Regions from separate parts of the Homo sapiens genome. Here all the other regions are linked to region 3. Evidence: promoter capture Hi-C in 16 types of primary human blood cells and fetal thymus (Javierre and others, 2016). All regions are on one chromosome and are shown on one strand. Each heading gives the region's core, a stretch centred on a gene start or on the middle of the fragment in contact. The rest is flanking DNA. Distances are from core to core; before and after follow the strand shown. Region 1 overlaps LOC124902426 (a long non-coding RNA gene). Region 2 overlaps MBL2 (mannose binding lectin 2). Region 3 holds the start of PRKG1-AS1 (PRKG1 antisense RNA 1). Region 4 overlaps LOC105378305 (a long non-coding RNA gene).

Region 1 (2,700 bases), core at 98-2,597, 270 kb after region 3:
GACTGCAAATTATTTGAGATTAATGAGGCTATAATTCCTCCTAATAAGAGTGGTTGTAGTAGTAGAGGCCATGATAGTGGTCACAGTTATTAATTGTAAATAATAGTAGTAGCTACCTTTTAATGAGCACTTATTATGTACCAAGCACCATGCAAAGAGCTTTAGGTAAGTTTAAACTCTATGAGATAGAGTGTACCTTATTCCCTTTATTTTACACGTGAGGAAACTGAGTCAGAGGCATTGGTAGTTTTAGTCATGGAGTTGCAGTTACAATGATAATAGTAAGTGTGGTAGCTAAACTTTAGTATTCTTTATGTGGCAAGAGCAATTCAAGTATTATCTCCTGTAATCTTGAAAAAATACTATGAATTACATGTGACCATTTCATCTCTTTCTGTATGCTGTAGATTATAAACTGCATTATTTAGTAATTTTCATTTAGGAGAAAGACAAAACACTATGTCGAATTTACTCATCAATTATATAACTCATCAATTTCACATCAGAAATACTCAAATGTGAAATTAAATGTGTATCTTTAAGCCAAAGGAAGGTACTGTTATTGTCATTTTACAAAGAGAGAAACTGAGGCTTAGTGGATACCAAAAAAAAAAAAATGCCCAAATTCATAAGCACTAGTAGCAAAGCTGAGATGTATATTCAAGTCTGTCTGGTATGGAATCAGCATAGATCTGAATAGATTTTGAGCGATAAGAGAGAATATCTCTTATTTACATCAGCCTTTTCTACTGCAAAGTGTCTGCCTATTTTTTTTTTAAGTCAGATGTCGTATCTTCACAATTCTAAATATCTGTGAACTTGTAAATCAAATGGATATCCAAAATAGAAGTGAAAAGTTGACTGCAAGCAGTGTCTGTACCCAATCACTTGGAATCGTTGAACACAAATTCTCTCAGTAGCAAGAATATTGCCTGGATAATTGACTCAACTCTCCACTTCCCCTTGCCTTGAAAAGTCAATAACTAGCTGGCTGTTTTGGTTCTTTGCCTAATTGGGCAATGATATTTCTAAGACATGATATCCATATTGTGACAGAGTTATTTCTTTATAAATATTTAATGCCACCAACAAAGACAGTTTGAGAAGTAAAATAACAATGTTTGGGTGTAGTTTCAGTCATGCCTTACCACTTTGTTATATGACCCCGTTCCCTGGCTAACATTTTCTCAGGCAGTTATTTCCTGTGCATTTCCTGAGGTTTCCACAACTAGACATTTTTTAAGGGAAATGGTAGTTAAAATAATAGAGCTTTTAAGGAATCTGAAGTTTAGTGATTAGGATTGTGGCCAATGGGTATATTTCCTGATATCTGTGAGAATTTAGAAGGTAGAATTCCTTTCTAATTATTGTAATAACAAACATCCTTAACATTTTTTTCTCTAGAAGATTGATAAGAGAAAAATTCAGCAGACCACAGTGCCGCAGGAACAACTGGCTGCCATTGTGCTTAAAGAGAAACAAAACAGGAAGCAAACCAAGAAAACCAATCCTGACTCCCGCATACAAACTGAGAGACGGTCAGGAGAAAGAAACGTGTTTAGATAGGAGTGATGCAATCAAAGGTTTACTATATCATAACAAAGAGGCCTGCATATGATCAAACTTTTGAACATTCTCTTACAAAAGATATTTGGAATCAGTATTATTTATTTTCCTGTAGATCTTAAATGAAAAATACAGATCTGCAGAAGAGGGCTGGTTTATAAAGAAGAGCAGTTCTAAGCACACAAAAGATAAAACAGCACTACATTTCAAACCAAAAGAGTTTAAGTTTTATGCTTGAAAGGGTGATGAGATTTTATCAAAGTGAACACAGAAACATTTGTAAGGTCTTTATATCTTTGGGAATGCTTAGGATGTCAATCTCTCCTTTTCCAGGGATTTCACCCTTCCTTAACTATAAAAAGAAGACTTCTTGGGCCAGGCCGGTGGCTCACGCCTGTAGTCCCAGCACTTTGGGAAGCCGAGGCGGATGGATCACGAGGTCAGGAGATCGAGACCAGACTGGCCAACATGGTGAAACCCCGTCTCTAACAAAAATAGAAAAATCAGCTGGGCATGGTGGTGCATGCCTGTAGTCCCAGCTACTTGGGAAGCTGAGGCAGGAGAATTGCTTGAACCTGGGAGGTGGAGGTTGCAGTAAACCGAGATCGTGCCACTGCACTCCAGCCTGGTGACAGAGCAAGAGTCCGTCTGAAAAAAAAAAAAGACTTCTTAATAAAAAACAGGCATACCTCATTTTACTGCACTTCACTTTTTTTGTGCTTCACAGATATTGCTTTTTTTTTTTTTTTTTTTTTTTTTTACAAATGGAAGGTTTGTGTGGTAACCCTTCATTCAGCAAGTCCATTGGTGCCATTTATCCAAGAGCATGTGCTCACCTTGCGTCTCTATGTTACATTTTGGTAATTCTTACAATATTTAAAAATTTTCACTATGATTATATCTGTGATGGTGGTCTGTGATCAGTGATCTTTGATGTTCCTATTGTAATTGTTTTAGGGCACCACCAACTGCATTCATATAGGACGGTGCACTTAATTGGTAAATACTGTGTGTATTCTAACTGCTCCACCAATCAGGTGTTGCCTCATCTTTCTCCTGCTCCTTGGACTCTCAATTCCCTCAGACACAACAGTGTTGAAATTAGACCAATTAATATCCCTACAATGGCCTCTA
Region 2 (2,700 bases), core at 68-2,567, 460 kb after region 3:
TTTAGTGATTGCCCACAAAAGGAACAATACTGGATATGAGGAAATTGATATAATTTATCTTTTCAAGCATACTGTGGGCCTGTGGGTTGCAGTAAAAAGACAAGGAGGGCCTGAGTGATATGACCCTTCAGATAGGGAACTCACAGACGGCCAGATGGGAGGTGGAGCAGGGGACGTCATTCCACTGGCCATTTTTCAGTAGCAATACACAATCTTCATCAGAACCAGCATTGTTGGGTTCACCCTCGTTCCAGTTTGTGTAGGTCAGTCTATTTCCTGTCAGATCCACAAACTGCCCTTCTGTCTTCTCATCAGTGATGCCCAGGAAGGCTTCCTCCTTGATGAGATTCTGAATGGCTCCATTCTCTGCAGCATTCCTGGGGGTGGCCACAGAGGCCTGGAACTTGACACACAAGGCCTTCACTTTTTCAAAGGTCATTATTTCACCATTGGTCAGGAAGAACTTGTTCCCAACTTGTTTGCCCAGAGAGAAGGTGAGCCCTAAAATGTGAAAAAGTGGGTGAAACTGACTCATCCTTAAGCCCAACTCAAGGTATTTCTCAAGAAAAAGTCTTCTAGAGTACAGTTGCCGGATAAAATATAGTATGTCCAGTTAAATTTGAATTTCAGACAAACAATGAATATTTTAGTATATCTCCCATATAATTTTTCAGACACACTTATACTAAAAATGTTTTTCAGCTGAAATCCAATTTAACTGGTGCTTTGTCTTTTTATTTGTTAAATATGGCAACCCAAATGTGAACAGACAGACTGGTACAAAGGCCTCTCTGTGCTTTCAGATCAGAATTCTAAAAGACATATAATTTGGACTTCTGAATTCTAAATTGTTAACTTGAGACCAAACAAAAAATGTCTGAAAATATTTGCCCCAGGCAGGTTAGACCCCACGGCCAGGTCTCAATACCAGTGCAACAAAGGGATATAAGTCCCATTTTCAGTGAGCAATATCAGACGGTAAAGGATTAGGGTCTCTCGAGTCAGACTGACTTCCATCTATAAACCACCCCTGCCATTTATTAGCTCTGTGCATTTGAACAAGTAATTTAACTTCCCTTTGCCTCCATTTCTACCAAAATGTTGTGAGAATTTCATGAGGTAAGAATATGAGAAATGCCTAGCAGGGTACAGAAAATTATATGCATTCAACAAATATTTGTTGCATTCTATTTTTCCCAAACTTCAAGCTGCCTGGAGAGTAAGAGAAAAAGCTTACACTTTTTGATACGTGCCATTTCTGTTTGCAGAGCTTTTCTTTCTGAGGCAGCCAGGCTACTATCACCATCTAGAAAATTAGAACAAAGTAAAGAAGCATTGTTGAGAAGGAGCCTCAGAACTGTGCATATACAAGGGAGTGGAGTATCTTTTTCAAACTGAAAAAAAAAGCTTATTTTACATTGATGTTTACACTTTGAAGGAAAATAAAAAATACTGAAAAGCCCAAAGAATGAAAAATCGCTATTTCCATCCAACCCCAAATGTCCCTCTTTGTCTGTTTACTGTATCCCAAAGTACGCATACATATCACATGCACACATATACTCCCTGATTACCTAGCAATCCATATGCCAGGTTCTTCACAGATTTTTTTTTCAAATAAATTGTTCTATCAAAACTAAAAAGAAATCTCTTGAGGCGTTACTCTATTATGACCTGGTGAAGAGTGACGAAAAAGATTGCAGAGTTTTTGTCTTTGGAGAGGTTTTGCTTTTGATGTCTTTTGTTTTGTTTTTGTTTTTTCCAGGTTTGTTCTGTTAGTCAGGAAACCAAGATTTTTGTGAGTTGCCCATTATCCAAGTGGGGAGGGCATGAGCAAATCACTTGTTGTAGTAGATGGCAAAAATGGCCTCAATAGGGTACAGCTCCTCGCATTAAGACATGAGTCTATTACCCCACTCCTTGAATCTGGGCTGGCCTTGTGACTTGTTTTGACCAATACAGTCTGACAGAAATGATAATGTGCTCTGAGTCTTCAAGAAGCCTAAAGCCTATCTTATTTCTACTCTTGGGAATCCTGTAATCACTGCTATGTGAACAAGCCCTGTTGGATGATGAGAGATGTGGTTCAATTACCCTCATCACTCCAGCTAACATTCAGACAACAGCCAGACACATGAGTGAGACTATTGGCCATCAGTTGACCACAGACATGTGGGTAAGCCCAGCTTAAACCAGCAGAGAAATCACATGGCCGACCCACAGACTTGTGATTTAAATTGACGGCTATGTTTTTAAGCTATTAAGCTTTGGCTTGGTTTCTTATGAAGTAAAATATGACATACCATGGTTACATGCTTTTGTAAAAATAGGTATAATAAGCCCACACTTAGATGGCCTGTTTTCTCCCTCTAGGACCAGGGCCTCACATTAGACTGTTTCAGCTGATGGAGAATCCAGGCTCAGCTCTTACAGGGAGTGCCTGATGAGGGAGTTGTCTTGAAAAGTTTGTAAGTCTGTACTCAGGCACTTATAGGAATTCCCTAAGGCTCTAAGAATGAAGAGAGGGCTGAGGGCACTGGGTCAGAAAGCAAATTTGGGTATCTTCCTTTGAAGGAACAGGAGAAGGGGCACCTCTTACCAGATACTCAAGGTCTCAGAACCCTGGGTGAAGTCAGCTCAGACCTTGCTGGGGTCCTTACCCGGACTTTTTCCAGGGTCTCCTTTTTGGCCCTTTGGTCC
Region 3 (2,700 bases), core at 111-2,610:
AAACTCACAAAACAGTTGCTTATTTTCTGACACTTATAATATCAACCTGTTTTTAAAAGAATTATGTATGCTTTTATATTTATTGCTATAATTTTATTGTTACTACATCTTTTATTATTACTGTAATTAGAATAAAGAGAACTTTATTATTTAAAATGAGAGCTGTGTCTCATAAATATTTGTATTCACTGTGCCCCTCCCCCCACCACCCATCTCACCAAAAAATTTAAAAAATAAAAATAAGGTAACAACCCAGAGGGCAGCCCAATGCCAGGGCTCTAGGCTTCCAATAAGTTTTTGTTGAATTAAATAGATCATTTCCCATTTATAAGCATGACATCATTCTTATACACCAGCCTTACTTTATTATATCCACACACCAATTTCAATGACGTCAAATTCACTTTCTAATTCACTTTCAGCTCTTCTTCTCCTCAAGGTTGTTTCTTTTCTCCCTAGAAAGGGTATTGCGTGGTCCCGTGCAAGGTAAGACTTGGGAGCAAACCCTGCATTCGGAAGCGTTGCGATGTGATATACTAATGAGGAAGTCAGGCGCTAAGCCCTAAGGGTTTCTTATTTCTCCACATTAGCCCACCACTGAGAAGGGAGAACCGGGGAAAGGCGACTGACCTGGCACGTTGGACCCTGTCCGCTTTGGTCCCGGCCACTTTGATCTCACGCGTCTGCCTAATCAAGTTCATCTACCGCCGCGATTGCCCTGATTCAAAGAACAACATTAAATGGTTTGATTATCGGATGGTCATTTCCCTCTTCCCTCCACCCCTGATCTAATTTCTAAACGCCAGTCTCTCGCCTCCCTCTCTAAACTTCCCATCAAAAGAGAATTAGCTCTTCTTCCTTCTTACCCTCGTTTGATGTGCAAATTTCCTTCTCTTTGCACATTTTTCTCGCAGTGGCGGGGGGAGGTGGGGGAGGAGGGCAACTGAAGGACCTCAAAGCCGGGGATCTAACTCAGATCTGCAAACTGCGACTCTAAAGGGTTAATGAGCAACTTGCACCCGCCACCTGGCCCTCTCAGAGGCGTCTTGCTAGAGCCATTGAATTACAGACCGGTTTGTATTTAATACTGAATATGACTTGTGTGCACAGTCAGCGAGTATTGGCATAAAGGAGAGGGGCAAAAAGTGCTTTTGCAGAGCCTATCACCCCTCGGCTCTGTAAAGTATTTCAGATCCGGATAATTCAACCCTTACTGCCAGGCAAGGGCACCCAAGTTCCCAGAGTTCCTGCTGCCGCCTGCATTTATTAAAGTCGTCTGCTATAACGCTCGCTGGTAGCCTTCACCCCGAAGGTGAGCCGGGCCAGCCGAGCGACTAAGCAAGGGAGGGGCGGGGTGAAGAGTGTCAAAGGCCCCCCTTCATGTACACAAACACACCCCCTCCCAGCCCCTCCCAGCGCTTTGAAATCCCATCCCGGCTTTGTTGTCTCCCTCCCAAGGGGCCGGAATGCTCCGGGCCCGCGGTATAAAGGCAGCCGCGGTGGCGGTGGCGGCGCAGAGCTCTGTGCTCCCTGCAGTCAGGACTCTGGGACCGCAGGGGGCTCCCGGACCCTGACTCTGCAGCCGAACCGGCACGGTTTCGTGGGGACCCAGGCTTGCAAAGTGACGGTCATTTTCTCTTTCTTTCTCCCTCTTGAGTCCTTCTGAGATGATGGCTCTGGGCGCAGCGGGAGCTACCCGGGTCTTTGTCGCGATGGTAGCGGCGGCTCTCGGCGGCCACCCTCTGCTGGGAGTGAGCGCCACCTTGAACTCGGTTCTCAATTCCAACGCTATCAAGAACCTGCCCCCACCGCTGGGCGGCGCTGCGGGGCACCCAGGCTCTGCAGTCAGCGCCGCGCCGGGAATCCTGTACCCGGGCGGGAATAAGTACCAGACCATTGACAACTACCAGGTGAGAGGGGTCGGGCACTCAGAGGATGCTCTGACCTTGAAAGGGTCCTATCTGGAGACGAGGGAGTAGAACGTGCTGAATGTGTGCGGTTCAGGGAGCATTTGGTAACCCTGCATTTGGGAGCAGTGGGCAGTAACAGGTTTTGGAGAGGTGGACAGATAAGGACTGTGATCAGCGCCCGGGTCCAAGAGGGCGGGTACCTGGACGTCTGGGTGCCTCACCCTCTCCCCGAACCCTTCCCACAGCCGTACCCGTGCGCAGAGGACGAGGAGTGCGGCACTGATGAGTACTGCGCTAGTCCCACCCGCGGAGGGGACGCAGGCGTGCAAATCTGTCTCGCCTGCAGGAAGCGCCGAAAACGCTGCATGCGTCACGCTATGTGCTGCCCCGGGAATTACTGCAAAAATGGTGAGTCCTGAAAGCTCCCTTTCACACTAAAACTGTCCAGCCTTTGAGCGTCTATGAATTGGGCGGGGGCGGGGGGTTGGGGGGGGTGGGGGGAGAAATCTCCGCCCTGAGAACACTGCGGCGCCACCTGCAAATGGGTGTTCAGCATGCAGGATTCCGCTGAAGTATCTTCATTGCAAGTGTTTAATCGGGAAGAAGAGAGAAGTTGGGAGGTCTCTGAGGTCCTTATCTTCCTCCGTGTCCCTCAATGATTCAATACAACGGTTCACCTCGTAGTGGACTCTTCCATAAAAATTTGTCTGGGGAGAACCTTGAGGTCAATTGAGAAGGGGGATGATGAGGAGGACGATGGGATCATACAGATATCAAAGAAACCAGCTTT
Region 4 (2,751 bases), core at 205-2,704, 310 kb after region 3:
TATATTTTCTAAAGCTTTCAGTATAAAATGAGAACCATTATAGTCTCTGAAACAAATACCTCAATCAATTTAACTGAATCTTATTTTAAGAGAATACACTTGATTTATCATCAGCTTCTCATATAGAAACTTCAGATAAGGATATAAAAGCCTTTGAATTTCAAATTGTGAAAATTATTAATATGTCAGGACTAATTAACATTTCAAAAGAAGGTTTGGGGAGCCCTTTTATTCTTTTGTCAACAAATGTAAACCACTATTATTAAATTTACATTGAGAAGACATATTGCCACTTTTTTCGTCTGCTTCTACTATAAATGACAAAAGAGAAACTATAGGAAATAGTAATATTTATAAAATGGTAAGTACTTAATAAGTGCCTACTAAGCTTTAGGCAGTGCACTGAGCATCTATATTTATTATCTTAAACCTTGCATAAAGCTAGAGTTAGGTAACAGTATTATTTCCTTCTCAAAGATATAAAAACCCAGGTCTCGAAAGGCAAAAAATTAGTCCACCCAGTTAGTAAATAGGGGAGCTAGGATTCAAAATCAGGTACATCTGACACTGGAGTCCTGTCTCCTAAAGTAAAATTCTGTGTTTCCTTGAGTTTCTCCTTCAGCTACTAGTAGCAGTAACAGTAGTAGTATCATTCATTCATTCATTCATTTGCTTATGAGGTTATTTAGTACCTATTATGCTCCAAGATCTCTGCTAGTTACTTGGGAGATTACAGGGAACATAATAGAGGCACTGATCTCTTGGAGCTTATAATCTTTTAGAGAAGGCAATTATTTATTCAATTGGTAATTCCACTAGAGTATATTGAGTGTTATGTTGGTGGAATCACAGAGTGCTATATAACTGTGTGTCCTCTGCACCCCCAGTATTTTATACTCATCTTCATTGGCCTTGTTACACTGAAAAATGAATTTTCACCTATGTGCTGGTTGTCCTTTATAAACTATAAACTTCTTAATAGCAGGCATCTTATCTGATTAATGTTTGTGACCCTAGCACCTAACATAGTTCCAGGCACATAGTAAGTGGGTGCCTAATAAATGTTTTTTTTTTTTTTTCCTGAAATACTCATTGATTATAACTAGTCTCTAAATAAGCAGTTTTTGACTCCTGATTCTGTTACTCTCAATGATTTATTATTGGTAAAGTGAAACTGTTAGTTATGTGATTATACTAATCAAATGAAGTTTTTGGAATTAAAAATAATGCCATCATTCGCTCTCTAATTCAACAAGTATTTTGTCCACTTACCACATATTACTTTATGTGTGGCACAAAGGACAGAAATCAGGCCCTGAGCTTACATTTAGGATTTTGACTTGAGTGGAAAAGATAAGACAAGCTTATAACAAAATACGTAGATGACCATTCAGGAACTTATTATGTATGTGAATGCATTAGTGTGTGTGTGTGTGTGCAAGAAATTCTGTATTCATCCTCAGGAAGAGTGACTATTAGAAGGAATGGGAGAGTGACTCATTGAGAGTGGTTAGGTCCCCCTTTCAGTCTTTTCTAATTGACCACCTAAGCTTTTCAGATCAATCACCAGCATGTGAAATGAACCCTTCATGCTGGATAGATCTCTCAGGACATGGAGGACATAAAGACTGCAGGTTCCATGTGGGTGGGTGTTTGAGCCCTCTGAGATCCAGAGGGTCCAATGTGGCTTTCCAGGTGTGGTACCCAGATGGACTGGACATTAGCACTGAGGCCTTGAGCCAGGGCAAGCCATAACCAAGCTGGTTATGAAGGAATGAAATCACACTCAGAGCCACTGTCCTTCAAAAAACCAGGCTGGCCTCTGCAGGGACATAGGATGAAAGCAGCAATAGGCAGAGGAAGGAAGACCCAGCAACTCAGTTGTTGTTCTGTGTGCAAGCAAGGGTTGGTGGTGGCAAACCCAGCAATGTCAAGATTCTTCCAAGGCAAGACGTTCAGAGGCCCAGAGCACTGAAAAGTTTAAGAAACTCTCACTCACTTATCCACGTGTGAATCAAAGTCAAAATAATACTAAACTATAAAATGCTAAACTTGTGTGCATGCTAAAATAAAAACACTTTCTATATTTGTAGATGAAAAAACTATAAAAAATAATAGTAAAGTAAACTTTCCTCACCTTATTGATGCCCTATTTTGCTGGCAGTCTAAACCTCTGCTTTCTTACTCTGCATAAAGGGTAAGCACTGGCCCTTTCGCTCTGGACAAGGGAAGCTGGGGGACCTATTTCCTGGGCTGATTTTTTTGTATTATCTAAGATGGTAAACAGGTGGCCTTAAGAATATGGTCCTGGACTTCCTGCTAACCTTAAACTGTTTTATATTTCTAGAACCTCGTTCTGATAGAATATGATAAATAAACAGTGTGATTTTATTCACCCCCTGAGTGGTACAAAACAATTCATATTCATTATAGTTAAAACATAAGGGAGAAAGTGCCAAGAAGTGTATGAGAAGTTTAAATAAATTATTAATAGAAATTCAGAAAACAGACGCAATTACATTAGGAATCTGAAAAGATTTATGGAAGACTTTGCATTTTGGCTTTAAGTGTAATGGAAGTTCAGGGATAACAGATGTAAAGAACAATGTCTAATTCTAGGGCTGAGAGAATACCTAAGGAAGGAGCAAACTTGGAAGAGCTTCTCTCACCAAGGCTGAGATCCAGACTTCTTTGAGGAGTGTGGCTGTGCCCAATGGATGGTGAAGTTTACTGAGTGCTGCAGGCAGTAAC

The links. The method cuts DNA at HindIII sites, captures the fragments that hold promoters and counts their contacts. A CHiCAGO score of 5 or more calls a contact.
Region 1: a fragment that was not itself captured here is called in contact with the fragment with the promoter of PRKG1-AS1 in region 3 in 3 of 17 cell types (endothelial precursors, megakaryocytes and M2 macrophages); the score reaches 12.2 in endothelial precursors.
Region 2: a contact is called between a fragment that was not itself captured here and the fragment with the promoter of PRKG1-AS1 in region 3, in 1 of 17 cell types (megakaryocytes). The highest score is 8.2, in megakaryocytes.
Region 4: a contact is called between a fragment that was not itself captured here and the fragment with the promoter of PRKG1-AS1 in region 3, in 1 of 17 cell types (M2 macrophages). The highest score is 5.6, in M2 macrophages.

What each region holds. Positions count from the first base shown.
Region 1 is chr10:52,577,791-52,580,490 of GRCh38, forward strand. It overlaps LOC124902426 (a long non-coding RNA gene), which reads left to right. Exons shown (of 2, transcript XR_007062146.1): 2 at 1,900-2,259. The region is part of intron 1 of LOC105378305 (a long non-coding RNA gene); the gene reads right to left. Among named protein-coding and RNA genes, the nearest start is that of LNCAROD, 110 kb to the left of the region's middle. The HindIII fragment of the contact is 2,831 bases long and covers 1-2,700 here.
Region 2 is chr10:52,768,010-52,770,709 of GRCh38, forward strand. MBL2 (mannose binding lectin 2) reads right to left here. Exons shown (of 5, transcript NM_001378373.1): 3 at 2,661-2,700; 4 at 1,238-1,306; 5 at 1-501. The coding sequence ends at 128. Among named protein-coding and RNA genes, the nearest start is that of MBL2, 3.4 kb to the right of the region's middle. The HindIII fragment of the contact is 175 bases long and covers 1,231-1,405 here.
Region 3 is chr10:52,312,768-52,315,467 of GRCh38, forward strand. PRKG1-AS1 (PRKG1 antisense RNA 1) reads right to left here and starts at 1,361. Exons shown (of 6, transcript NR_038277.1): 1 at 867-1,361; 2 at 631-718. DKK1 (dickkopf Wnt signaling pathway inhibitor 1) reads left to right here and starts at 1,514. Exons shown (of 4, transcript NM_012242.4): 1 at 1,514-1,910; 2 at 2,156-2,318. The coding sequence starts at 1,668. The HindIII fragment of the contact is 4,208 bases long and covers 1-2,700 here.
Region 4 is chr10:52,617,738-52,620,488 of GRCh38, forward strand. The region is part of intron 1 of LOC105378305 (a long non-coding RNA gene); the gene reads right to left. Among named protein-coding and RNA genes, the nearest start is that of LNCAROD, 150 kb to the left of the region's middle. The HindIII fragment of the contact is 187 bases long and covers 1,362-1,548 here.